Linked DNA regions of Homo sapiens: regions 1, 2, 3, 4, 5 and 7 are each linked to region 6. The links are contacts of gene promoters, found by promoter capture Hi-C in human tissues and cell types (Jung and others, 2019). All regions are on one chromosome and are shown on one strand. The core of a region is centred on a gene start or on the middle of the fragment in contact, and the rest is flanking DNA. Distances in the headings are between cores, read along the strand shown. Region 1 overlaps SHISA9 (shisa family member 9). Region 2 overlaps SHISA9 (shisa family member 9). Region 3 overlaps SHISA9 (shisa family member 9). Region 4 overlaps SHISA9 (shisa family member 9). Region 5 has its middle 46 kb from the start of SNX29-AS3. Region 6 holds the start of SHISA9 (shisa family member 9). Region 7 overlaps SHISA9 (shisa family member 9).

Evidence for each region. Contacts are between HindIII fragments. The study calls those that stand out against the background at their distance.
Region 1: a fragment that was not itself captured here is called in contact with the fragment with the promoter of SHISA9 in region 6 in 2 of the 25 tissues and cell types used here (H1 embryonic stem cells and mesendoderm cells).
Region 2: a contact is called between a fragment that was not itself captured here and the fragment with the promoter of SHISA9 in region 6, in 5 of the 25 tissues and cell types used here (dorsolateral prefrontal cortex, heart right ventricle, liver and 2 more).
Region 3: a fragment that was not itself captured here is called in contact with the fragment with the promoter of SHISA9 in region 6 in 8 of the 25 tissues and cell types used here (H1 embryonic stem cells, bladder, dorsolateral prefrontal cortex and 5 more).
Region 4: a contact is called between a fragment that was not itself captured here and the fragment with the promoter of SHISA9 in region 6, in 3 of the 25 tissues and cell types used here (bladder, dorsolateral prefrontal cortex and thymus).
Region 5: a contact is called between a fragment that was not itself captured here and the fragment with the promoter of SHISA9 in region 6, in 2 of the 25 tissues and cell types used here (dorsolateral prefrontal cortex and mesenchymal stem cells).
Region 7: a contact is called between a fragment that was not itself captured here and the fragment with the promoter of SHISA9 in region 6, in 2 of the 25 tissues and cell types used here (H1 embryonic stem cells and dorsolateral prefrontal cortex).

Annotation. Positions count from the first base shown.
Region 1 is chr16:13,072,123-13,075,404 of GRCh38, reverse strand. All of the region lies in intron 2 of SHISA9 (shisa family member 9), which reads right to left. Among named protein-coding and RNA genes, the nearest start is that of SHISA9, 170 kb to the right of the region's middle. The HindIII fragment of the contact is 4,813 bases long and covers 1-3,282 here.
Region 2 is chr16:13,110,629-13,114,071 of GRCh38, reverse strand. The region is part of intron 2 of SHISA9 (shisa family member 9); the gene reads right to left. Among named protein-coding and RNA genes, the nearest start is that of SHISA9, 210 kb to the right of the region's middle. The HindIII fragment of the contact is 4,488 bases long and covers 1-3,443 here.
Region 3 is chr16:13,154,453-13,157,909 of GRCh38, reverse strand. The region is part of intron 2 of SHISA9 (shisa family member 9); the gene reads right to left. Among named protein-coding and RNA genes, the nearest start is that of SHISA9, 250 kb to the right of the region's middle. The HindIII fragment of the contact is 6,009 bases long and covers 1-3,457 here.
Region 4 is chr16:13,137,109-13,140,566 of GRCh38, reverse strand. All of the region lies in intron 2 of SHISA9 (shisa family member 9), which reads right to left. Among named protein-coding and RNA genes, the nearest start is that of SHISA9, 240 kb to the right of the region's middle. The HindIII fragment of the contact is 4,939 bases long and covers 1-3,458 here.
Region 5 is chr16:12,655,450-12,658,759 of GRCh38, reverse strand. No RefSeq gene overlaps it. Among named protein-coding and RNA genes, the nearest start is that of SNX29-AS3, 46 kb to the right of the region's middle. The HindIII fragment of the contact is 4,296 bases long and covers 1-3,310 here.
Region 6 is chr16:12,899,715-12,903,049 of GRCh38, reverse strand. SHISA9 (shisa family member 9) reads right to left here and starts at 1,452. Exons shown (of 5, transcript NM_001145204.3): 1 at 423-1,452. The coding sequence starts at 985. The HindIII fragment of the contact is 6,671 bases long and covers 1-3,335 here.
Region 7 is chr16:13,090,615-13,094,168 of GRCh38, reverse strand. The region is part of intron 2 of SHISA9 (shisa family member 9); the gene reads right to left. Among named protein-coding and RNA genes, the nearest start is that of SHISA9, 190 kb to the right of the region's middle. RefSeq lists a silencer at 1,468-1,627. The HindIII fragment of the contact is 4,168 bases long and covers 1-3,554 here.

The sequences.
Region 1 (3,282 bases), core at 366-2,865, 170 kb before region 6:
GGATCCCTTGGCTTCGGGGCTCAGGGAGCCATGCAAGCTCCTCCTGCCAGCCAGCCTCTCTGTCTCTGGAGGGGCTGACACCAGGTGCTAGAGATCACAACATGGTGAATAATGGAAACTTCCCAAGTATGTAATTATGCAGCATGTTGACTTCATTATGCTATCCAAGCAGATGATTAGGAAATTCCCATGTCCCTGCTCTGCTTCCACAGTGGTCCTACCTCCCAGATGGGAGTTGGGTAGCTGAGCCTCATGCCTGTGGACTCTGCTAATCTCACAGCCAGGCCCCAATACTTTATACAGTGTGCTGGGAGCACTTATGGTAGGGGGCAGATATAGGGTCCTAACTGGGTACAATCATCTCTACCATAAACTGGTTCACTTTGTTCTCCTGCCAACTGCAAAGAAGCAGAGAAAACTAGCAATAAAAATAATAGTAATGGCCAGGCACGGTGGCTCACACCGGTAATCCCAGCACTTTGGGAGGCCGAGACAGGTGGATCACCTGAGGTCAGGAGTTTGAGACCAGCCTGGCCAACTTGGTGAAACCCCATCTCTATTAAATCACAAAAATTAGCCAGGCATGGTGGCATGTGCCTGTAATCCCAGCTGCTCGGGAGGCTGAGGCAGGAGAATCTATCGAACCTGGGAGGCAGAGGTTGCAGTGAGCTGAGATCCCACCATTGCACTCCAGCCTGGGTGACAACAGCAAAACTCCACCTCAAAAAAAAAAAAAGAAAAAGAAAAAGAGAAAAGAAAAGAAAAAAATAATAGTAATGATGATAACAATAAAAATAGCAGTACTCCCACAAGTGTAGGAAGCTGGCTGAAGAATATATCTCATTTGGCTGGGTATGGCCAGACTGCAGAGAGACAAAAGGTATTTACTCACCGTATCCTCAAGGCTAAATGCTCTCAATTTTTAGTGTGCATAGAAACCACCATTAAAAGCCTATTAAAAAAATGTTCATCCTTGGGCTGATCCTTGGGTGGGTAAGAAATGGAGAGGCACAGCTCTGAGCCATTGGTTCTCAAACTTTATTGTGAATCAGAACCACCTGGAGGGCTTTGTATTGGTTTTCTGTGGCAACCATAACAAATTTCTACAAACTGTGTGCTTTAAAACAGCAGAAATGGCCAGGCATGGTGGCTCATGCCCGTAATCTCAGCACTTTGGGAGGCCGAGGGGGGTGGATCACCTGAGGTCAGGAGTTCGAGACCATCCTGGCCAACATGGCAAAACTCCATCTCTACCAAAAATACAAAAATTAGCCAGGCGTGATGGCGGGCGCCTGTAATTCCAGCTACTCGGGAGGCTGAGGCAGGAGAATCACTTGAACCTGGGAGGTAGAGGTTGCAGTGAGCCAAGATCACGCCACTGCATTCCAGCCTGGGCAACAGAACAAGACTCTGCACCCCCCACAAAAAAAAAAAACAAAAAAAAAAACGACCAGCAGAAATTTATTCTCACGGTTCTAGAGGCCAGAAGTCTGAAACCAAGGAGTCCACAGACTTGGTTTCTTCTGGACGCGCTGCAGGAGAACCTGTCCCATGCCTCGTTCCTGCTTTCTAAATGTTACCAGCTATCTTTGGCGTTCCTTGGCTTGTATCCGCCTCGTTCCCATTCACATGGCCTTCTCTGTGAATCCTCTCCCCTTTTCTTCTAAGGACACTTGTCATTGGTTTGAGGACTCACCCTTATCCAGGATAACCTCATCTCATAATCTTTACCTTAATAACATCTTCAAAGATCTCTTTGTCCAAATAAGGTCATGGCCACAGGTTCTAGATGGACATGTCTTTTTGCCACCATTTGACTTTGCACTGCAGATTGCCGGGCCCCACATCCAGCATTTCTGACTCACTAGGTCTGAGCTGGGGTCTGAGAATTTGCATTTCTAACAAATTCCCAGGTGATGCTGCTGCTGATGATGCTAGTCCAGGGACCCCACGTGGGAGATCAATGCCCTTGGCAAATACTCCACATCCAAGTGACTTTGTGTTCTGGTAGTTAGCAAGTGCCAGATGTCTACATTGAACAGAACTGTGAAAGATGGCAAAGACTCTTTGCTCCCACTTTTCATCCTCGACCACCTGATAAGTTTCCTACCCTGAGTCCCCAGGGACCTCAATTAATCCTCAAGAAATGATAAGTCCTGTTGTACAAAAAAAAAAAAAAAAAGAGAGAGAGAGAGAGATAGGAGAGAGTTGGGCTTAGCCAGACCTGGCTGTGCATTTTGCTACCTGTGTGAGCTTGGATGAACAATTTCATCCCTCAGAGCCTCAGTTTCCTTCTCTATAAAATGGGAATAAGGGACGAGCATTGTAGCTCACGTCTGTAATCCCAGCACTCTGAAAGGCCAAGACAGGAGGATCACTCAAGCTCAGGAGTTCAAGACCAGCCTGGGCAAAGTAGCAAGACCTTGTCTCAAAACATAAAATAAGGCCAGGGATGGCGGCTCACACCTGTAATCCCAGCAATTTGGGAGGCCGAGGTGGGTGGATCACTTGAGACCAGGAGTTTGAGATCAGCCTGGCCAACATGGTAAAACCCCATCTCTACTAAAAATACAAAAATTAGCTGGGTGTGGTGGCAGGCGCCTGTAATCTCAGCTATTCAGGAGGCTGAGGCAGGAGAATCCCTTGAACCCAGGAGGTGGAGGTTGCAGCGAGCTGAGATCGTGCCACTGCACTCCAGCCTGGGTGACAGAGCAAGACTCCGTCTCAAAAAAAAAAAAAGATTTTACTTTTTTAAAATAAAATAAAATGGAAATAAGACTTTTGACTGACTTGATCATAGGTCTTGAAAGGATTGAATGAGATGATACATGCAAGCGTAGGAGCTGCTAGAACTAAAAATCACAGCAACTCAGCGATTCTGCTCAGTGACCCAGATGGGATGTGTGATGGGCACAAGACAGCAGGAAGGCCTCCGGCTGGAATTTCGCCAAGAGATAACTAAAAGGTAGCAGGTCCTGCCCCATCACTTCCTCCCCTGGCCCTGCAAAGCCCTGAATTCCTCTCCACTCCCCACCACCAAGCTACTGCCCCACCGGCCATGTCTCCAGAACCCATGATGGTAGTAATCACACCAGATGTTGCCAAACTCCACTGTGGTTCCTGAGGACAGGCTTCATTAACTTTGATCCGGCAGGCTTACCTGCATTGGGTACTGGCTTTATTTCCAGCCACCGCTTCTCAACCTCACTCAAGTGGCTTTGACACTTTGAGGACACTGGTGAGATGGCCTGGGCCAGCCAACGGTCCACTAGGAGACTGATG
Region 2 (3,443 bases), core at 911-3,410, 210 kb before region 6:
CTCTTAGATCAACAGTCATTTATTTCTAGGAATATTTTAACCATCACAGGTAACAAAATTCTCCGGAATTTTTCCAGGCACAATTCCAGGTTTACAGCATGTCCATGGTAAGCGCTTTGCTGAATGAATGAACAAATGAATAATGGAGTGACAGAAGAAGGCAGTGACCCCTGCCAGCCAGCTCAGGGCAGAAGCCTCCATTGACTGGGAATCAGGTGATAATTCCTCTTGACGATTACCAAAAACCCTTTTTGTCCCTGAGATACAGGCCTGGACCTTTTTCTAGTTTCTATTGTGTTCATCCCTTTCTCCTCCATGGGTGCCAAGAACACAGCCAGAAAAGGCAAACAAATGAGGCCAGTAATTTTCAGGACACTCTCAATTCCTTGGCTGGGTCCCTGCAGCAACTGAATATTAAGCACATTAACTCTGACCTCCCTGCCCAAATTCCTTTGTATTGGACGCAATAATGAGCCTCTCAGGCAAGACAATTTTCCCAGAACTTCAATGTCTATTTCTGTCCGATTAGTGCCAAGTCCTGAAGAAGGCTGCCAATTAATTCAGAGATGCTATACCAAAGCTGGTCCTCTCCTATTCTTGATCACGGGATATACAGATCAAGCAACAATCTCCAGGCTTGGTAGGATGGACACTCCCTGGAATACGTGATCTCTCTAACACTAACCCTGACTGGCTGAGACAGCCCTCTTACCAAAGAGACAGCAGATACTCTGTGACTGGCCCCTTGAGGGAGCCATTACCACCATCATCACTGCAACAAATGAAAACACTTTAGTTTAGGTCAGTCTAGGCCTGAAAACCAGGAAGATGTTCTCAATTTTTTTTTTTTTTTTTTTTTTTTGAGATGGAGTCTCATTCTGTTGTCCAGGCTGGAGTACAGCAGGATGATCTTGGCTCACTGCAACCTCTGCCTTCTGGGTTGAAGCGATTCTCGTGCCTCAGCCCTGCGAGTAGCTGGGATTACAGGCATGTACCACCACGCCTGGCTAATTTTTGTATTTTTAATAGAGATGGGGTTTTACCATGTTGGACAGGCTGGTTTCAAACCTCTGACGTCAAGTGATCTGCCTGCCTTGGCCTCCCAAAGTGCTGGGATTACAGGCGTGAGTCACTGCGCCTGGCCTCAAATTTTTTACTCTATTGCCTGCAAGCTGAGATGGAATTAGGGTAAAAAGAGACCCTAATTCTAAGTGACACCGGATTTAGTTTCAGGAAGAATGTCAACCCCACACATTCTTTGGCCATCACAAAGGCGAGTGGGAGCCATGAACCAGAGGGGCCTTTTAATGGCCTCTGAAAGGCAATGCCAAGCACCTCCTCCCAACAGAAACATCACTGAGAAGCATCCAAATAAGAGATGAAGCCACTCACAAACCAGAAGAACCCCTTGACTGGTCTTTAATTTGTTTTGTTAAAAAAAAAAATCACGAACTCATGCTTCTCAATGAGAGGTATTGTATAAAATTGCCTGAGTTTGTTTGCTCAGAATTGACCCCAGGGATTCCAGTTGATTCAGTAGCTGTGGCGTGGGGTCCCAGAATGCATATTTGGAAAATGTTCCTTGAGAGATTCCAAGGCATAAAACCTTGGTAAAGCTCCATAAAACCAATATACTCCAACAGTGTGGCTGGCAAATGAAAATCAAAACCTTTTTTTTCCTTCCTCCCTGCCTCCCTCTTTCCCTTCTTCTTCACTTCCCATCTTTCTTCCTTTTTTCTTGCTTTCTTCCCTCTTTCTCTTATTTTTTCCCTTCTCTCCTCCCTGCTTCAATTCAACAAATATGCATTGAATTTCTCTTATTAACTAAAACACCAAATTGCTCTCTAAACATATCAAGAACTAAAGCTTTATTTGGCATCTGACACAAGTCCTCAGGCCTTTTTCTGACGAATCATGAAACAACCTAGTCCATCTCCTTTAAAAACAAACAAAAAAAAATCCTTACCCTTTTGCTGAGTGGTATGACCACCTGGGCATAAGATAGAAAGGCCTTTGGAGTCATTTTTAGAAGACAAATGGGAAAGAGCAAAGGCCCGAAAGTCAGACAGACCTGGTTTTGAGTCTACTACCTAGCTGTGTGTCTTTAGGCAAGTTTCCTAACCTCTCTGAGCCTCAGTTTTCTCATCTGCAAATACAAGATGAAATGGGTTTCCACGAATGTCTGCCTCAACAGATGATAACTGAAGACCAGATGGCCTCTCACCTATCCAGGAACAATCATAGTCTCCTACCCTCCTTTAAACACAATTCTGCCACACATTTACAGAATCCAAATCTTTGGGGAGAGGCAATTCAATACTGCATTGAATACTTAATATTCAATACTGAATTGCTTGAGGTTACCTGGAATAGGGTAAGATTTGAATTTCATCCACCTGGTTAAATAGAAGCTCCAAAAAGAAAATTATCTTAATAATAAAAAATAAATTTCAAACTAATAGTAATGATAGTTAATGTTTACTCTGGCCTTTCTATGTGCCCACCAATATGCTAAGTGTCTTACACAGATAATCTCAGTTAATCCTCAAAACAGGGAGGTGTTTTCAGTCTGACTTTACAGATGAGAAAACCAAGGCACAGAGGACTTAAATAAATTATTCAATGATCTTCTGCAATCAGGATTTGAACTCAGGGAGTCTGCCATCTGAGATCACCTTAAGAAATAAGGGAAGCTGTTTTTTTGTTTTTGGGTTTTTTTTTTTTTTTGTAATTTGTTTAAGTTCTTTGTAGATTCTGGATACTAGCCCTTTGTCAGATGGATAGATTGCAAAAATTTTCTCCCATTCTGTAAGTTGCCTGTTCACTCTGATGATAGTTTCTTTTGCTGTGCAGAAGCTCTTTAATTTAATTAGATCCCATTTGTCAATTTTGGCTTTTGTTGCCATTGCTTTTGGTGTTTTAGTCATGAAGTCTTTACCCATGCCTATGTCCTGAATGGTATTGCCTAGGTTTTCTCTTAGGGTTTTTATGGCTTTCGGTCTTAAATTTAAGTCTTTAATCCATCTTGAGTTAATTTTTGTATAAGGTGTAAGGAAGGGGTCCAGTTTCAGTTTTCTGCATATGGCTAGCCAGTTTCACATCTCTTGTATGTCTGAGTTTACTTCTTAAGGGCTACAGTTAAATCTTAGAAGCCACGTACTAAATATTTTTTAATACCTTCAGGCCCATGAGGGGAGGATCAGTTACCACTAAGGAGCCCAAGTAACATTGGCATCTGTTCAATTTAAATGAATATCTTGTCTCTTGGACATACAAAGACTCAATTCAGTACCAGCTGTCTGAGACCAAATTCCCCAGCTTTCTCCAGGATAAATGAGGCCATGTGTCACTCTACAATCACAGACTCTCCCTTCATCACAGCTCTTTGGCTGGCTGATTGGCTCACTGACCTGTCACACCATCAGATGACTGTTTCCGAGTCT
Region 3 (3,457 bases), core at 505-3,004, 250 kb before region 6:
AATGGAGCTGAGGCTTCCTGAGCCTTGAGCAGCCTTTTATGAAGCCCTCCTCTCAGAACAAGACTCAAATCTGTGTTCACTGACAATTCCTGGGAGACTGAGAGTGGGAATGAATGAATGCCTCCGGATTGGGGGCTGGCAGAAGGGTTGTCTCCCTCCTTGGGAACAGGCAGGGAGGACAGCTGACAGGCAGTGGCAGTCATTCAGGGGTAATGCTGAACTGCCCTGACCCTTTTTATGTGCAAAATGGAGATAACACCACTAGCTGCCCAGGTCTGCCTGAGAAAATCAGCAATAGCAATTTTAGTCACAACACATAACACTGAATATGTACCACATCCTGTTTTAAGTACTTTCCATGTATGAATTCCTTCAATCCTCACGAAAATCTTCGAAAATGGGTATTTTGTGATCTCTGTTTTACTGATGAGAAACTGGGGGACAGAAAGGCTAAGTAACTTGTCCAGTTACAGCAAATAATTGGCAGAGCTGGGATCTGGACCCAGGCATTCAAGTTCCAAAATCTGAGATCTCCCATTCTCTGCTAATCAAGTATTATCATGTATGCAACAGAGCTTTGTGATGCTAAATTGCTTCACATATATTAGTGCGAAGCTTCACACAAACAACTTCCTTAATGCTAGGATAGATGAGAGGCTCTGAAAGGGTTGATTCAAATCTTTCTTATAGCCCAGCACTCAGCACCACATAAAGCATCTTAGTGGGATGGATGGATGGATGGATGGGGGGATGGACGGATGATGGATGGATGAATAAACACGTAAGAAGAAGATTCAGATGACAGCAGGGGAGATGGAAAGGAAAGAGCCATTTGGAACCAAGAAAGAGTGGAACACAGAAACAAAGCTCTAAATAGGAATCCTCTGATGCATACTTGAAAAGCCCTCAGCCAGGTTTCCAAAGGAAATTTGCAAATTGCATTTATATACATTCTATATAAAAAACACTCAGTAAATGTGTTTCTTCTTTCATGCCTTCATCTTTTGATGACGCACATGATGTGGAGAAGCGCAAAGATGAGAGACTACCTGATTATACGTATCCATAGTTAGGAGTGTGCATAGGGTTTGGTGTAACAATGTAATCCCGCAGGTGTGCCTAGCTATTGGTCTGCACAGTTGTGCAAGGAAGTAATTTTTTTTTTTTTTTTTTTTTGAGACGGAGTCTCACTCTGTTGCCCAGGCTGGAGTGTAGTGGCGCGATCTCAGCTTACTGCGAGCTCCACCTCCCAGGTTCACGCCATTCTCCTGCCTCAGCCTCCTGAGTAGCTGGGACTGCAGGCGCCCACCACCATGCCTGCCTAATTTTTTGTATTGTTAGTAGAGACGGGGTTTCACCATGTTAGCCAAGATGGTCTCGATCTCCCGACCTTGTGATCTGCCCACCTCAGGCTCCTAAAGTGCTGGGATTACAGGCGTGAGCCACCATGCCTGGCCAAGGAAGTAATTTTATATGTGTATACAATTGCACCTATCAATGAGTGTTGGCAGGATTGTGTGCATATACGCGTGTACACACAATTAATAATGGGCTAACACTCATTTAGAGTTTACTACATGCCAGGCTCAGTGCTAAGCATGCTGGCAAGTACCACCTCATTTAATCCTCACAGTGGTCATTGATGCACCCAGTTACACCCATGTATATGGCTCTGTCTGAGCTGCGTGTACACGGTTTTCTATTAGGTAAGCACCGGCTCAGACTGGCTGCCAATTTTCTGCTGCTTAACCTAAGCTACATGAAGAATGCCAGGAAGGCACACTTTCCTGGACTAGAAGCAGTAACAGTGAATTAAAAGACAGATCATGAAGTCCCTTCAAAATACCATCCACTTAAGAAACAGCAGACACCCAGCTTGCGTTTTTTTGCTGTGTAAACACATTCCCACCACCCCACTCACTTAAATAAGGCTCCTCCACTTTGGCATCCCCGCAAACACATTTTTTACAGTTTCTTTTTCAAAAACAAGATTGCTCCCTCGGCAACTGTTTCCAAGCACATTCCCTCATTCTGGGAGAGGGAAGAAAAAAAAGCAGAGAAATCCTCTTGTTACTATACAGGGAACATGGAATAGGGGTAGGGGGAGAGGGGGAAGTGGGGAAGAGGCAGAGAAGCAAATAATATCATGGACTTCACCAAATGGAATTAACAAATGTCCCCCACCCCAGCCACGTTTCCCCCAGGCCCAGTAATTGCTAATTAGTTCAAAGGCTGTGGCCTGGGTACCTTGACTAGCACAGTGCCCTACCCCCACCATATGTGCATATGTACGTATGCACACAGACACACACACACACACCACACACACAAACAAACACACTATGAAAGGCCAGAGGCCATCCCCTGCAGAGCAGTCTGGTAGAGCTAATGAGGAGACTGAAATTATCTCCCTCAGAGGGGTCATCTAGTCAACATCATTTTCTCAACATTATGTTGACTACTTAAGAGCAGCAAAAATAGTCCCAGGGCAGGTGGGGAGGGGTAGGACCCTAGAAGAAAAGAACTAAGCTACCAACTTTTTCCATTTCAATCCATTTCATTCCAATATATGCCTTTAACTCAATAAATAATTATGTTCCATCCAATTCGTTCCATTCTGTGATATCCAAGTATTCCACTCCACATCATTCCAATACATTCCACTCCAATCTATTGCATTCTAAGCCACTCCATCCCATTTAAAGTCCAACTCATCCCATTTGATCCCAGTTCAATCCATTCTGTTCTAATCTACTTCCATTTCATTTCATTGCATTGCAACTCAGCCTCTTCCATTTCAAGCCATTCTGTCCCCAGTTCATTCTACTCCAGTATATTTCATCCCATGTCATTATTTCATTGTCTTCTTAGTCATTTTAACCTATGCCAATAACTCCTACAGGAAGTATTTCATCATCATCTACAATCTGAGCAGCCATGTGTACCATGAGTGATGTCTAGAGAGGGATGTCTAGAGAGGGACAGAGTTCCCATCTCTGCAGGCTTCTTGGGGAGGCAGAAACAACCCTGACAAAACATCCTGAGAACAACCACGTAACCGTGTCTGCTTTCAAAAGCTCAGAAAAATTAAGATTCACAGCAAAGGAAAGACCCTAAACCTGAAATCCTAACTCTCTACAGGGATCATGAACGAGAAACCAAGACCACTTTGGTGCTCTGCAGAGAGGAGGTAAAAAGCCAGGCTGATTAGTGGTCAAATTCCAGACCTTTTCCTTAGCAGCTGTATTAGACAGGATTATGCTGCTGCATCCAACAGCCTCAAAATCTCAGTAGCTTAAATCAACAAAGTTGTATTGCTCACTCATGATTCTTCTCTCTCATACATTGCCTGGGGTCTCTGTTCCATGCCATCCTCACTGCCAAGAGCCAGTTAACAGAGCAACTTCTATCTGGATCATTACCCATCACCATGATGGAGGGGAAAAGCACATGGCTA
Region 4 (3,458 bases), core at 894-3,393, 240 kb before region 6:
CAGAACTTGCTATAATAAATCTGTGTTGGGTGGATTTATTAAATGGACAAATAAGGAGATGTTTAGGTACCCCCAGAAAGGAGTACCATTGGCCAGGTGCAGTGGCTGACGCCTATAATCCCAGCAATTTGGGAGGCCAAGGCAGGTGGATCACCTGAGGTCAGGAGTTTGAGACCAGCCTGGCCAACACAGTGAAACCCTGTCTCTACTAAAAATACAAAAATTAGCTGGTTGTGGTGGTGGGCACCTGTGACCCTAGCTACTCAGGAGGCTGAGACAGGAGAATTCCTTGAATCCGGGAGGTGGAGGTTACAGTGAACAGAGATGGTATCATTGCACTCCAGCCTGGGTAACAGAGCAAGACTCTGTCTAAAAAGAAAGGGAAGGGAAGGGGAGGGGAGGGGAGGGGAGGGGAGGGGAGGGGAGGGAAGGGAAGGGAAGGGAAGGGAAGGGAAGGGAAGGGAAGGGAAGGGAAGGGAAGAGAAGAGGAAAGGAGAAGAGAGGAGAGGAGAGGAGAGGGGAGGGGACTATCTACTCGCAAAACAAGAAGGAATGACCGAGGGTCAAAAGCCAAAGCATAAAGCCAGAGCCAAGCTGGGCAGTCAGGTGAGAGGTGGGTGAGGCTGTGACAAAGCCACCAGGATATAGACAGCCAGGGACCTCAACTGAGTCAGAGCCAGTAGCTTAATGAGTGACTCTGAAGAGCAAGGCCTGCCTCTTCTGAGGTTCCAAGGTGACAGTTTTAAAGCTGCCTTGCTGAGCAATGCCAAATAACAGGTTCTAACCTGACTTGTCTTGTTTACTCATATGAACCTTAAATTGTTAGGAACAAAATGTCCACCTCAGATGGTCAATTCCAGTGGTTTGGAAACTGAATTTTACGAAATCTGGAATTCTGAAGAATTGTTTCCAAGACAGGGAATGCGGAGGAGACTCGTGCTACAGACCATGCCATGCACACTTCAACTAGGGCAACTCTGTTTATAGCAGGCTTCCATATTGGCACTCCACAGGAAATCCTTAAGGGAGTGGTTCTACTTTACCGATAAAGTAAAGGAAGGGATGAAGGGAGAAAAGAAAGACAGGAAGGAAGGAAGAGAGAGAGAGAAAGAGGGAGAGGAAGAGGAAGAGAAGAAGGAAGGAAGGAAGGAAGGAAGGAAGGAAGGAAGGAAAGAAGGAAGGGAGGGACGGAGGGAGGGAGGGAGGGGAGGGAGGGAAGGGGTGTGAAGAAAGGAAAAGCAAGTGAGAGGAGGGGATGGAGAAAGTTAAAAAAAGAGGGAAGAAGGAAGAGATAGAGGAAGGGAATTAGAAAGAAAAGAAAGATGGCAAGAAGAAAGGAAGGGAGTGAGGGAAGGGAGGGAGGGAGATAATAGAGGGAATAAAGTTAAGGAAGAGAAATGAAGAAGTGAAGAAACAAATTACAAATAAAACCCAACCCTGCAATGAGAAAACAGTCAGAAAGGATGATATTTCTGAGGCCACAGTGGAAGGTAATGGCACTGTAGTGGTGACAACTTCATTCCTCTAATTCGCAACTTAGTACCCCACGTTTGAGGATAGGAGTTGCATCAGCTACATCTTCCTCCCCTCCATCCCGCAATGCTTCAGGGTGTCCTAATAGATGCTCCAAGCCCAAGATGTCCAATGAATCAAAAAGCAAAGGTAAAGGTGGGTACCATGGAATTAAAAACTGCAAATAAGGGGTCAGACACTCTGGCCATGTCAGGAGCCATGAATCCTACAAAAAAAAAATAATAAAAGTTTCCAAATAGGAATCCTCATAACATGCTCACATGAATGGGGGAAAATGACTCATAGGGCAGCAATTCTTTGCATGTGAACAAGAGATGATATGTGTGGAACACTCTAGTCCTCCTAAACGGCTCAAAGACTCCCCTTGTGAGACATCCATCCATAATTGTGAACCACTAAGGAAAATCTTTCTTCAAGAGTCTACAAAAGACAACTTGAATGAGGCTGAGAGGAGGGGTAGTTCGTGGAGTCTAAGGTCTGGGGGCTGCCATATCTGTTCATTCAATTTATATTTTCTGAGAATCTCCTATATGCCAGGCAGTGTCATAGGAGATGAATCTACAGTGATGAAGATGCCGCCCCTGTTATCAAAAGCTTAAGGTCTAAAAAGTAGCCATCCTGATTATAATAGTGTGATAAGGATGAAACAGTGTAGGAGAAGGACACTGTGGAAAATGTAAGCACCTATTCTAGGAAAGGAAGGTCAAAGAAGAGTTCCTGGACCATTGGTCTCAAGTTCCAATCTATGAGTTACCCACACATTTTATTAAAATGCAGCTTCTGATTCAGTTGCTCTGGGATGAGGCCTCAGATTTTGCATTTCCATCAGGCTCTCAGATGCTGCTGCTGTTGCTAGTCCACAGAACACAGGTAGAGAAGCAAAGTCCTAGAGCACAGCCACTCAAAATATAGCCCAGGGACTAGCGGCATCACCATCACTTTTGGGTGTGCATAAATGCAAATTCTCAGGCTTTACCCCAGACCCACCGAGTCAGAATCTCTGGAGCTAAAGCCCAGAAATCTATTTTACCAAATTATCTGTGTGAACTATCATTCATGTAACATCTGAGATGCAGCATCCTTGGGAATCTACTTGCGCTTAGTCCTGAAGAAAAATACGAGTTAGCCATGAAAACAGAGTGAGAAAATGGCATTTCAGGCAAAGAAACAGCTGGACAAAGCCATAGGAAGAGGAATGAACTGGGGCCCAGGAATAGTTAGATGCAGCATGCATGATCAAAGAAATGAGGCAGGGAACATGATTAAAGATTTGATCCTCCAGCCAGGTGCGGTGGCTCATGCCTGTAATCCCAGCACTTTGGGAGGCTGAAGTGGGCAGATCACAAGGTTAAGAGATCAAGACCATCCTGGCCAACATGGTGAAACCCCATCTCTACTAAAAATACAAAAATTAGCTGGGCGTGGTGGCATGCACCTGTAGTCCCAGCTATTCGAGAGGCTGAGACAGAAGAATCACTTGAACCCGGGAGGCGGACGTTGCAGTGAGCCGAGATCTCACCACTGCACTCCAGCCTGGTAACAGATTGAGACTCTGTCTCAAAAAAAAAAAAATAAAAAGATTAGATCCTCCGTTATGGGCTCTCTAACGAGCCTCCCTAGTGTGATCAATTCAACACTATTTATGCTAATAGATGTAATAAGTGAGTTGATCTTTTACTTATCTCAACTTGGGGGTCACTCATTCATTTTCCAGGTTTCTTGAGACATATTTTTTCATGAACTCAGACTCCAATCACTACTGCCGTATTAGGATCCCCACACAACAGCATCTATTATGGATTCCACTATCTGCCTCCCATTTCAGAGCCAACAAATATATTTCATCCAACTCCATCTGGCCAGATACAGAAGGTTAGGATTGTTGCCAAGGCAAAACTGGACTTGACTTCTCACAAGCTGAGACA
Region 5 (3,310 bases), core at 230-2,729, 240 kb after region 6:
GCAAACCACAATTGCAAAGCAGCACACCAGAGGTCAATAAAGTTTTTCTCAAAATTCACTTTTTTTTTTTTTTTTTTGACACGAGGTCCCGCTCTGTTGTCCAGGCTGGAGTGCAGTGGCTTAATCTCAGCACATGAGAATCTCCACCTCCCAGGTTCAAGCAGTCCTCCTGCCTCGGCCTCCCAAGTAGCTGGGACCAAAGGCATGCACCACCACACCCAGCTAATTTTTGTATTTTTGGTAGATGGAGTTTCGCCATGTTGCTCAGGCTGGCCTCAAACTGCTGGGCTCAAGTGACTCACCTGCCTTGGCCTCCCAAAGTGCTAGTGTTAACAGGCATGAACCACCAGGCCTGGCCTAACATTCACTGTGTATTAGACCAGAGATACCAGAGGAAGAAGCCTGGGTCACTGGGGAGTGAGGAGTCCTAGCAGGGAGACAAGCCAGGGATAGGAAGCCTCTGATTTGTATATGAGCGTCACACAGATCTCTTGCTTACCCCCAAAGCATGCATGAGCAGGACAGACAGGGCAACAGAGGCTTAAAGAATTGAACCAAGATTTGAATCACTGCCCAGAGGAAGCAATAGAAAGCTTACCACTGGAGTCTGATCAAGTTAATTGCCTGCAAAAGCCTCAACATTCTTCAGAAGAATATAACTGAATCCTAGTTCTCCACAATGTAATATCCACAATCCCCAGCATACAACCCAAAATTGCTTGACATACAACAAAAGCAACAACAGAAAAAAGAAAAGAAAATACATCACTCTCAAAGGATAAAACAGTCCTAAGATGCCCCAGATGTTGGAATTATCACTGCAGGAGAACAGAGCAGCTCCTATAACAAAGCTTTATAAAGTAAAGGAAAATATACTTAGTATGAATGAAAAGAAATGATATCTCCTAGAACATAGAAAAAATCAAATGAAAATTTCAGAACTGAAAAATATAACATCTGAAATTTTAAAACTTACTGGATGGGCTTAATAGCAGAATGGAGAAGAGAGAAAAGAGTCAGGAAACATGAAGACAGATCAGTAGAAAGTATTCATTCTAAAATACAAAGACAAAAAGGATTTTATTAAGCAAAGCTTCAGGACCCTATATCAAAAGTCTAAAGTACAGGTGATGAGTACCAGAAAGGAAAGAAAGAATGGGCCCCCAAAAATTTGGAAAAATGCTAGCCAACAACTTCTCATATTTTGTGAAATTTTTTAAAAAATTAAATTCTCTATGCTCAACAAACAGAAAACGTGAGTCACGAAGCAAAATATTACTAAATTGGACTTTATTATAAAGATTTTGCTCTTCAGTGATATTAGAAAATGGGAGGCAAGGCTGGAAAAATAAATTGCAGCACATTTATCAGATAAAGGGCTTGTATCCAAAATACATAAAGAACTGCAGCCTGGGCAACATAGCCATATCTCCAACTCCTGACCTCAAGTGATCCACCCACCTTGGCTTCCTAAAGTGTTGGGATTACAGGTGTGAGCCTCCATGCCCAGCCGAACCCTTCTTTTTAGAGACCAGAATGGAGGGAATGGAAAGGCCAATGAGGCTAGGGCAGTGGATGGAGACGTGGGATAATGTAATCGATCCATTGTTTGATAGGCGCATGTCCATTTCCTGCTAATTCCTCTCTCAGAGGCACCCTGTGCTGTGTTTCATTGTGAAGCAGGTGAGGCTTTCTGGATTTATGCACAGTTCGCCTTGGTCATGTCAGGAAAGAGCCACCATCTGTATAGAACGGGTGACATCTGCCTTTCACGGAATCCCTGCCTCTGGGCAGACCATATGGATGTGTTGTAGGCACTGAAGGAGAGCGGATCCAGGATGTAGCCTGTTACTGTGATGTTTGAAAGTCTCTCCTTGGTCTTCCAAGCTGTCCTTTCAAGCTTCCACAAAAAGAGCTAATGATTTCATCTCATAGTATTTTTGAAATACTCTGGATTTGCTCTCTTAAGCTACCAAGGAGGCCGGGTGCAGTGGCTCACACCTGTAATCCCAGCACTTTGGGAGGCCAAGTCAGGTGGATCACTTGAGGTCGGGAGTTTGAGACCAGCCTGGCCAACATGGTGAAACCCCGTCTCTACCAAAAATAGAAAAATTGACCAGGCGTGGTGGCACATGCCTGTAGTCCCAGCTACTCGGGAGGCTGAGGCAGGAGAATCACTTGAACCCAGGAGGCAGAGGTTGCAGTGAGCCAAGATCATGCCACAGCACTCCAGCCTGGACAAAAGTGAGTGAGACTCCATCTAAAAAATAAAATAAAATAATGAGTAATTAATAAAAAGCTACCAAGGCAGGTTTTTGGCTCAGTGGTGCAGTAGCTCACACCTATAATCCCAGCACTTTGGGATTCTGAGAGGGGAGGATTGCTTGAGTTCAAGACAAGCCTAGGCAACATAGTGAGACCACCCCTCCCATCTCTACAAATATAAAAAGTTAGCTAGGCATGGTGACACACATCTGTAGTCCTAGCTACTTGGGAGGCTGAGATGGGAGGATCGCTTGAGCCCAGGAGGTCAAGACTACAGTGAGCTGTGATCATGCCACTGCACTCCAGCCTGGGTAACAAAGCAAGACCCTGTCTCTGAAAAAAAAAGGAAGAAAAAAAAAAAGGCTACCAAACTGCAATATCACACCCTTAAACCACATATTTTGGTGTGAAAAACTGTTAAAGTGACATGGTATTGTATTTACCCTATAGGTTCGGGTTTTCCTGTTCTGTTATGTCGTTGTGGGATGAAATCCAACATGATACCCTGAGAGCAGGAGCAGTGTCTTCATAGCCACTGTGTCCTCATTGCCTGGCCTGGGGCCTCACCCTTCTTATAAATGTGTGTTGCCTCCTTGTTGCTTCCTCTGTGCTGTGTTTCATTGTGAAGCAGATGAGGCTTTCTGGATTTAAGGCTTCCCTGCTCAGCAACCCTCCCAACACCATGAACCTTCCGATTATTCATCCATTCCAAAGACTTGCCGAGGAGGTACCGCGCCCTGTGCCTGGCGCGGGTGAACAGAGAGCAGCCTTTGTCTCTTGCGAGACGACTTAAACACTGATGTTTCCTGTGTCCTGGGCAGCCTTCTCTGCTCCCTGACGTTCCTAGGAAACCTGACCGACACCAATCACATTCATTACTGTGTATGTGATGACAGTTCCCACATAGAATGATTTTAAGACAAGATGAACTTCCGCTGACTGGACAGCATGACAGTGTCCCCAAAACAACGCACACACACCATTTCCAAACTTTAATTCATCTCTGTTCCGAAAGCACTTTCTCTTGTTTTTTTTTCTTTTCTTT
Region 6 (3,335 bases), core at 203-2,702:
CCTCCCCTTTCGGGCTCGCCTGCCCCTGTTTACCAAAAAGCTAGCACCTGGAATCCGAGGGGTGCCATGGACCCTCTCCCCAAACCCGAAGATTTCGGGGCCACGGGCTCCCAGGCTACGTGTCTCAAGTCCGCCTCAGTCACCAGCGGGAGGAGGCGGCCAGAGGGTGAGGGAGCAGAGTCACACACACACACACACACGCTCACACACACACGAACACGCTCAGACCCACACCTGTGCTGAGCCCAGCGCCCCTTCTCCGTGTTCCAAGCCGAAGTTGGCTTCCCGGTGACATCCCCCAGCGGAGAGGCTGGGATGCGGGGAGCGGGGACCGTGGGGAGCGCCATTGCCTGGGGGAAGGTGGGGAGGAGAGAGCAGGGAGAGCGAAGCCCCGAGGGGAGGGCGAAGGGGAGGCAGCCCACCTGGACATGTGCTCCCTTTGGGGCCGGTGCGCTTTCTCCAGCCCCAGCTTGGTGAAGATGCCCACGAGCACCATGACGGCCACCACCCCGCAGATGATGTAGACGATCAGGTTGGTCTTGTCCTTGGTGGGGTCGTGCAAGGGGTCGTCCTTGCGGGCGGGGGGCTTGCCGGTGTTGAGCCAGAGCGGCGTGTCGTAGTTGGTGCAGGTGCTTTGGTTCAGTCGCCGCTTCTTAAACGTGCAGCAGAACCGGAAGCCACAAGTCCCGCAGCAGAAGATGAAGTCGCCCGAGCTGCAGTTGAACGGCGGGTCCCACTGGCCCATGACATCGAAGTAGCCCCGGCAGAAGTCCGGCGTGGGCGCCCGGGTCGGGGGCGCGTCCGATGCCTCAGCGCCCTCGCTGGCCTCTCCGGAGGCGGCCCCGGAGCGGTTGCCCCCCGCCAGCAGCAACACGCCGCCCAGTTGCGCCAGCTGCCCGTGTCCCGCTCGCTCCTGCGCCCGGCACACGCGGGCGCACAGCTCGGTGAGGAAGCAACCGAGGAGCAGCCGAAGGACGCGGCGCATGGTGTCTCCCAGCCCGGGCTCGGCCGCTCGGCCGCCGCTGGAGCCTCTGCGGCCGCCTCTCGAGGCGCGGCCGAAGCTGCCGAGGCTGCTGCCGGGAGCTGCGAGCCGCCGCGGGCCGCACATGCAGGGAGCGGCGCGGGGCGCTCGGTGGTCGGCGGCCACTGCGCTCGGCTCAGCCCGCGTTCGCCTCAGCCCGCGTTCGCCTCCAGCGCGCCGCGCGCCGAGGGGCCGGCCGGGGAGGAGCGCGCCCGGCCGGGCGGGGGGAGGATGAGCGGGGTCAAGCGCGGGGTGCAGGTCCGGCCGGCCACTGGGTGAGGCGGGGGTGGAGAGCAGAGGAGAATCGGGCTGGCAGCGCCTAGCCTTGGCCGGCAGCCCCGGACTGGCCGCCCCTAGCCCTCTCGCAGTATCCCTCTCACCTCACCAGCTCGCCAAGTGCGCTGAAGAGAGCGAAGCGACACTTGTGGAATGAAGGGAGGGCAGGAGGGAAGGGGGAGGGGGAGGAGGGCGGGCAGAGGAGGCGCGGGTGGGGGGGGGCGGGCGCGAGCTCTAGAGGGGCGGGGGCGCGGGGAAGAGGTGACTAGAGCGGGAGCTAGCTGGGGGGCGTGCAGAGCTGAGCCAGGCGAGCGGACGGGGAGGAGCGAGCTCGGCAGCAGCCGAGGCTAGAGGAGCCGCTCGGATTTCCAGGCAGGTGGAAAACCGCGGCAGGACCTCCCGCGCCCTCTCTGGGTAGGAGGCGCGGCTCAGCCCTGTCCAGAGCGCAGAGGCGGCTCAGCTCGTAGCTTTTTCACCGGTGCGTGTGCAGGAGCGGCGGCCGAAATCTGTGCATCAGGGGAAGGATGACTCGGAGAGGATGGGGACAGACTAAATGGCTTTCACTCCAAGACAGACTGGGTGCAGTCTGGTCAGGATCGCCCCTCCCAGGCGTGCGGGGCCTCCTTGCCCTTCCCGGCTGCGCCCTCCAGCCCTGAGCGCAACCCGCATGGCTCAACTCTCTGGGCCCAAGCAAGGACCCAGGCGGAGCTGGGAAGGACAGGTGGCAAGCCCCTGAGCCAGGGATAAGCACCCTCCGGGGGAGAGGGGCTCGGGATGAACGAATCAAAGAAGGTCGGGGGTAAGAGGGGACAGCCGAACAAGGCCGAGGCTATGGCGTGTCCTGGAAGGTCTTTCCTTGGAAGTCCCCCAGCCTCTCGAACCTGCCGCTTTCTGTCCCTCTTCGCCCCCGCAGCGTTTTCTGCGCTCCACAGGAGGGAACACCGCGGCGCCGCCTCTGCGCTCCCGGATCTGGCGCAGCGCAAGGCCTGGGCACCCAGCCTCAGCCACCCTCCCGGACCTGGAGCCCGCGCATCGGTCTCTGGAGCTGGCTGGCCCCTGTCCCCACGGATCCCCCCGGAAATCCTCACCGGGGGCTGCAGAGCTCTGCCTTGCTTCCTCAGCTTCCAGCCTCCCGTCTCCTCTGTGTTTCCAAATCTGCCCTCTCTCTCCTAGCGAATTCCAGCTCCCCGGAGGCCCTCTCTCATTTCTCCCACCTCTTTCTCTCCTCTGCTTGAATTTGACTCCAGTAGCCCCAAAACAGGATTTGCACCAAAGCTGCTACACCAAATTTAGATCTCCCCACGCCCCGGCGTTTTGTTTTTTAATTGCATTAACTAAGTATACACTTTGCAGGCTGCTAGGCGATTTGCAAGGAGATAATGTTTCCACAACCCTCCTCTCCACTTGGCTGCAGTCAAGGGCTTCTCAGGGCATCTTCAGAGAACGAAAAGTTGGGCGACATGTAAAATGGTTTACTAGGGTCCCCTGAATTGAGAAAGGGTGGGAGGATTTATTGGGACTCTGTTGCAAGTTTTCTCCAAATGAGAAGTTTGGCTAATCGCCCCTTCTCTTTGAAAAAAAAAGTCACATTTTGATGTTTCAAAAAAGATTTGCAAACACACAGCAAGACATTGACAGGGCATACCCAGGAGTATTATATTCCAAACCCATCTGGGGAAGGTATGAACACGTTTAATCCAGATTCACCAGATTCATTATAATAGAATCCCCAAAATAGGAGAGTATGGAAAGTCTGTCATGACTGGCAACCCACGCCCACCACCACCTTGTGAGTCCTACAAACACAAGCACTGGTGTGTGAGAGCTAATGAGAGCTGACATTTATTCAGTGCCTGCAACATACTCACTAAGCTTGCTTTTTCTAAAAGCAGCTCCTCAAGAAAGCTTAGAGCAGTGCCCAGCGTATAGCAGACAGTCTGGAAATATTTGCTGAACCACCGAGTGACTGGTTTCATGTAACTCTCTCTCCCTTAGGTAATAGTACCAGGCCCACACAACAGAGGGAGAGAATGAGCCC
Region 7 (3,554 bases), core at 720-3,219, 190 kb before region 6:
ACCTTATCTCCTTTCTTGTGACAATGACAATCTTTTCTTTCCCAACGTCTTTTCTGCTAGCACAGTGGCAAAGGACAAAGAGAGAATGGAAAAGTACCAAGACACCGGGACCCCAGCAGCCTCCTTGGTATAGGAGACCTGTGAAAGGGCCAGCTTCTGTTGGGACCTACCTTCAGTGGGGGTGGCTGGGACGCAGGCAGAATGGTGGGAAAGGCAGACAAGGAGTAAGGAGCCCACAGAAGGGGAGGGATGAGCCACACCTATTTAAATCCTATGGTGCCTCCCTTCTGCCAGAGGAGCGAATGTCTGAGTCAGCAACAATTGCATCTGAACTAGTTTGCCCTGTCACTATTTATAGGCCCCGCAGTGCTGTGTGGTGTACTTAGAGAGGCCCTTCTCAGTAAAGACACAAACGGATGCAAAGGCAGAGATTGGGGAGGTCAACGAAGCGAAATACCAGACTCCTGAGGAAATCCTCAAAGCACATGTGGGCGCCTGGACAAAAATCCAGGGCCGAACTGCAGCACCAGTTACTAAAGGGAAACGAGACTTTTCCCAGAGACCTGGCTTTCTCTGGGATTTTGCTGATTTATAATCAGCCCCACTCCCCCCACCTCTCATATGCACATGATACCTTGAATTTCAATAGTTAAGTCACTTCTTGCAGGTCCTTATCTGGAAATCCATGACAGCCAGTGTTCATGAAAACTCCTCTTGTATGGACCCTTTGTGCATTATGCAGTTAATCCCATCTAAATCCCTGCAAGATAAGTCTTATCATCAATCCCACTTTATAGATGAACAAACTGAGGCTCAAAGATGGACAGCAACTGGACCAAGATCACCAACTAGTAAGTGGCAGAGATGGGCTTTTCTTAACCCAACAGTTATAGTGACAGGCAGGATCTACGATAGAAGTTTCTCTCATCTAAGTCATCTTGTCACCCTAGGTTGAAGTAAAGCCCTGGGCCAAGACTCAGAACAAGAGGGGTGCAGCCACTTGAACTGGCTGCCCCATGTTCCTCACCCTTTCCAACTCCTCTGCTGCCAACAGAACCCAGGACTCTATGCCCCCGGGAAACTTCAAAGCTATATTCCTTTCCATACCAGATCAGTATTTCCACAAATGGGTTTTGGTGTCAAAAAGTGTTAGGTTCATATCACATCTCTAATGGTCATATAATGTTTAAAAGTCTGATTCTCAATTACGGCTTTCCAAGATGGCCGAATAGGAACAGCTCTGGTCTGCAGCTCCCAGCATGACAGACGCAGAAGATGGGTGATTTCTGCATTTCCAACTGAGGTACCTGGTTCGTCTCACTGGGACTGGTCAGACAGTGGGTGGAGACCAAGGAGGGCAAGCTGAAGCAGGGCGGAGCGTCACCTCACCCAAGAAGCACAAGGGGTTGGGGGATTTCCCTCTCCTAGCCAAGGGAAGCCACAACAGACTACCTGGAAAAACGGGACACTCCCTGCCCAAATACTGTGCTTTTCCCAAGGTCTTAGCAACTGGCAGACAAGGTGATTCTCTCCTGTGCCTGGCTTGGCAGGTCCCATGCCCATGGAGCCTTGCTCAATGCTAGCGCAGCCGTCTGAGATCGAAATGTGAGGTGGCAGCCTGGCTGGGAGAGAGGCGTCCACAATTGCTGAGGCTTGAGTAGGTAAACAAAGTGGCCAGGAAGCTCGAACTGGACGGAGCCCACCACAGCTCAACAAGGCCTACTGCCTCTAGATTCCACCTCTGTGGGCAGGGCATAGCTGAACAAAAGGCAGCAGACAACTTCTGCAGACTTAAACATCCCTGTCTGACAGCTCTGAAGAGAGCAGTGGTTCTCCAGCATGGAGTTTGAGCTCTGAGAACAGACAGACTGCATCCTCAAGTGGGTCCCCGACTCCCATGTAGCCTAACTGGGAGACACCTCCCAGCAGGGGCCAACAGACACCTCATATAGGTGGCTGCCCCTCTCGGACGAAGCTTCCAGAGTAAGGATCAGGCAGCAATATTTGCTGTTCTGCAATATTTGCTGTTCTTCAGCCTCTGGTGGTGATACCCAGGCAAACAGGGTCTGGAGTGGAATTCCAGCAAACTCCAACAGACCTGCAGCTGAGGGACCTGACTGTTAGAAGGAAACTAACAAACTGAAAGGAATAGCATCAACATCAACAAAAAGGTCATCTACACCAGAACCCCATCTGTAGGTCACCAACATCAAAGACCAAAGGTAGGTAAAACCACATAGATGGGGAGAAACCAGAGCAGAAAAGCTGAAAATTCTAAAAACCAGAGCGCCTCTTCTCCTCCAAAGGATCGCAGTTCCTAGCGAGCAACGGAACAAAGCTGGATGGAGAATGACTTTGACAAGTTGACAGAAGTAGGCTTCAGAAGGTCGGTAGTAACAAACTTCTCCGAGCTAAAGGAGGATGTGTGAACCCATTGCAAGGAAGCTAAAAACCTTGAAAAAAGATTAGACGAATGGCTAACTAGAATAAACAGTGTAGAGAAGACTTTAAATAACCTGATGGAGCTGAAAACCATGGCATGAGAACTTCGTGACACATGCACAAGCTTCAGTAGCTGATTCGATCAAGTGGAAGAAAGGGTATCAGTGATTGAAGATCAAATTAATGAAATAAAGTGAGAAGAGAAGTTTAGAGAAAAAATTGTAAAAAGAAATGAACAAAGCCTCCAAGGAATATGGGACTACATGAAAAGATCAAATCTACATTTGATTGGCATACCTGAAAGTGATGGGGAGAATGCAACCAAGTTGGAAAACACTCTTCAGGATATTATCCAGGAGAACTCCCCCAACCTAGCAAGGCAGGCCAACATTCAAATTCAGGAAATACAAAGAACACCACAAAGATACTCGTCGAGAAGAGCAACCCCAAGACACATAATTGTCAGATTCACCAAGGTTGAAATGAAGGAAAAAGTGTTAAGGGCAGCCAGAGAGAAAGGTCGAGTTACCCACAAAGGGAAGCCCATCAGACTAACAGTGGATCTCTCAGCAGAAACCGTGCAAGCCAGAAGAGAGTGGGGGCCAATATTCAACATTCTTAAAGAAAAGAATTTTCAACCCAGAATTTTATATCCAGCCAAACTAAGCTTCATAAATGAAGGAGAAATAAAATCCTTTACAGACAAGCCAATGCTCAGAGATTTTGTCACCACCAGGCCTGCCTTACAAGGGTTTTGAAGGAAGCACTAAATAAACATGGAAAGAAACAACTGGTACCAGCCACTGCAAAAACATGCCAAGTTGTAAAGACCATCAATGCTATGAAGAAACTGCATCAATTAACAGGCAAAACAACCAGCGAACATCATAATGACAGGATCAAATTCACACATAACAATATTAACCTTAAACGTAAATGGGCTAAATGCCCCAATTAAAAGACACAGACTTGGACAAAGAATCAAGACCCATCTGTGTGCTGTATTCAAGAGACCCATTTCACGTGCAACGATGCACATAGGCTCAAAATAGAGGGGTGGAAGAAGATCTATCAAGCAAATGGAAAGCAAAAAAACAGCAGGAGTTGCAATC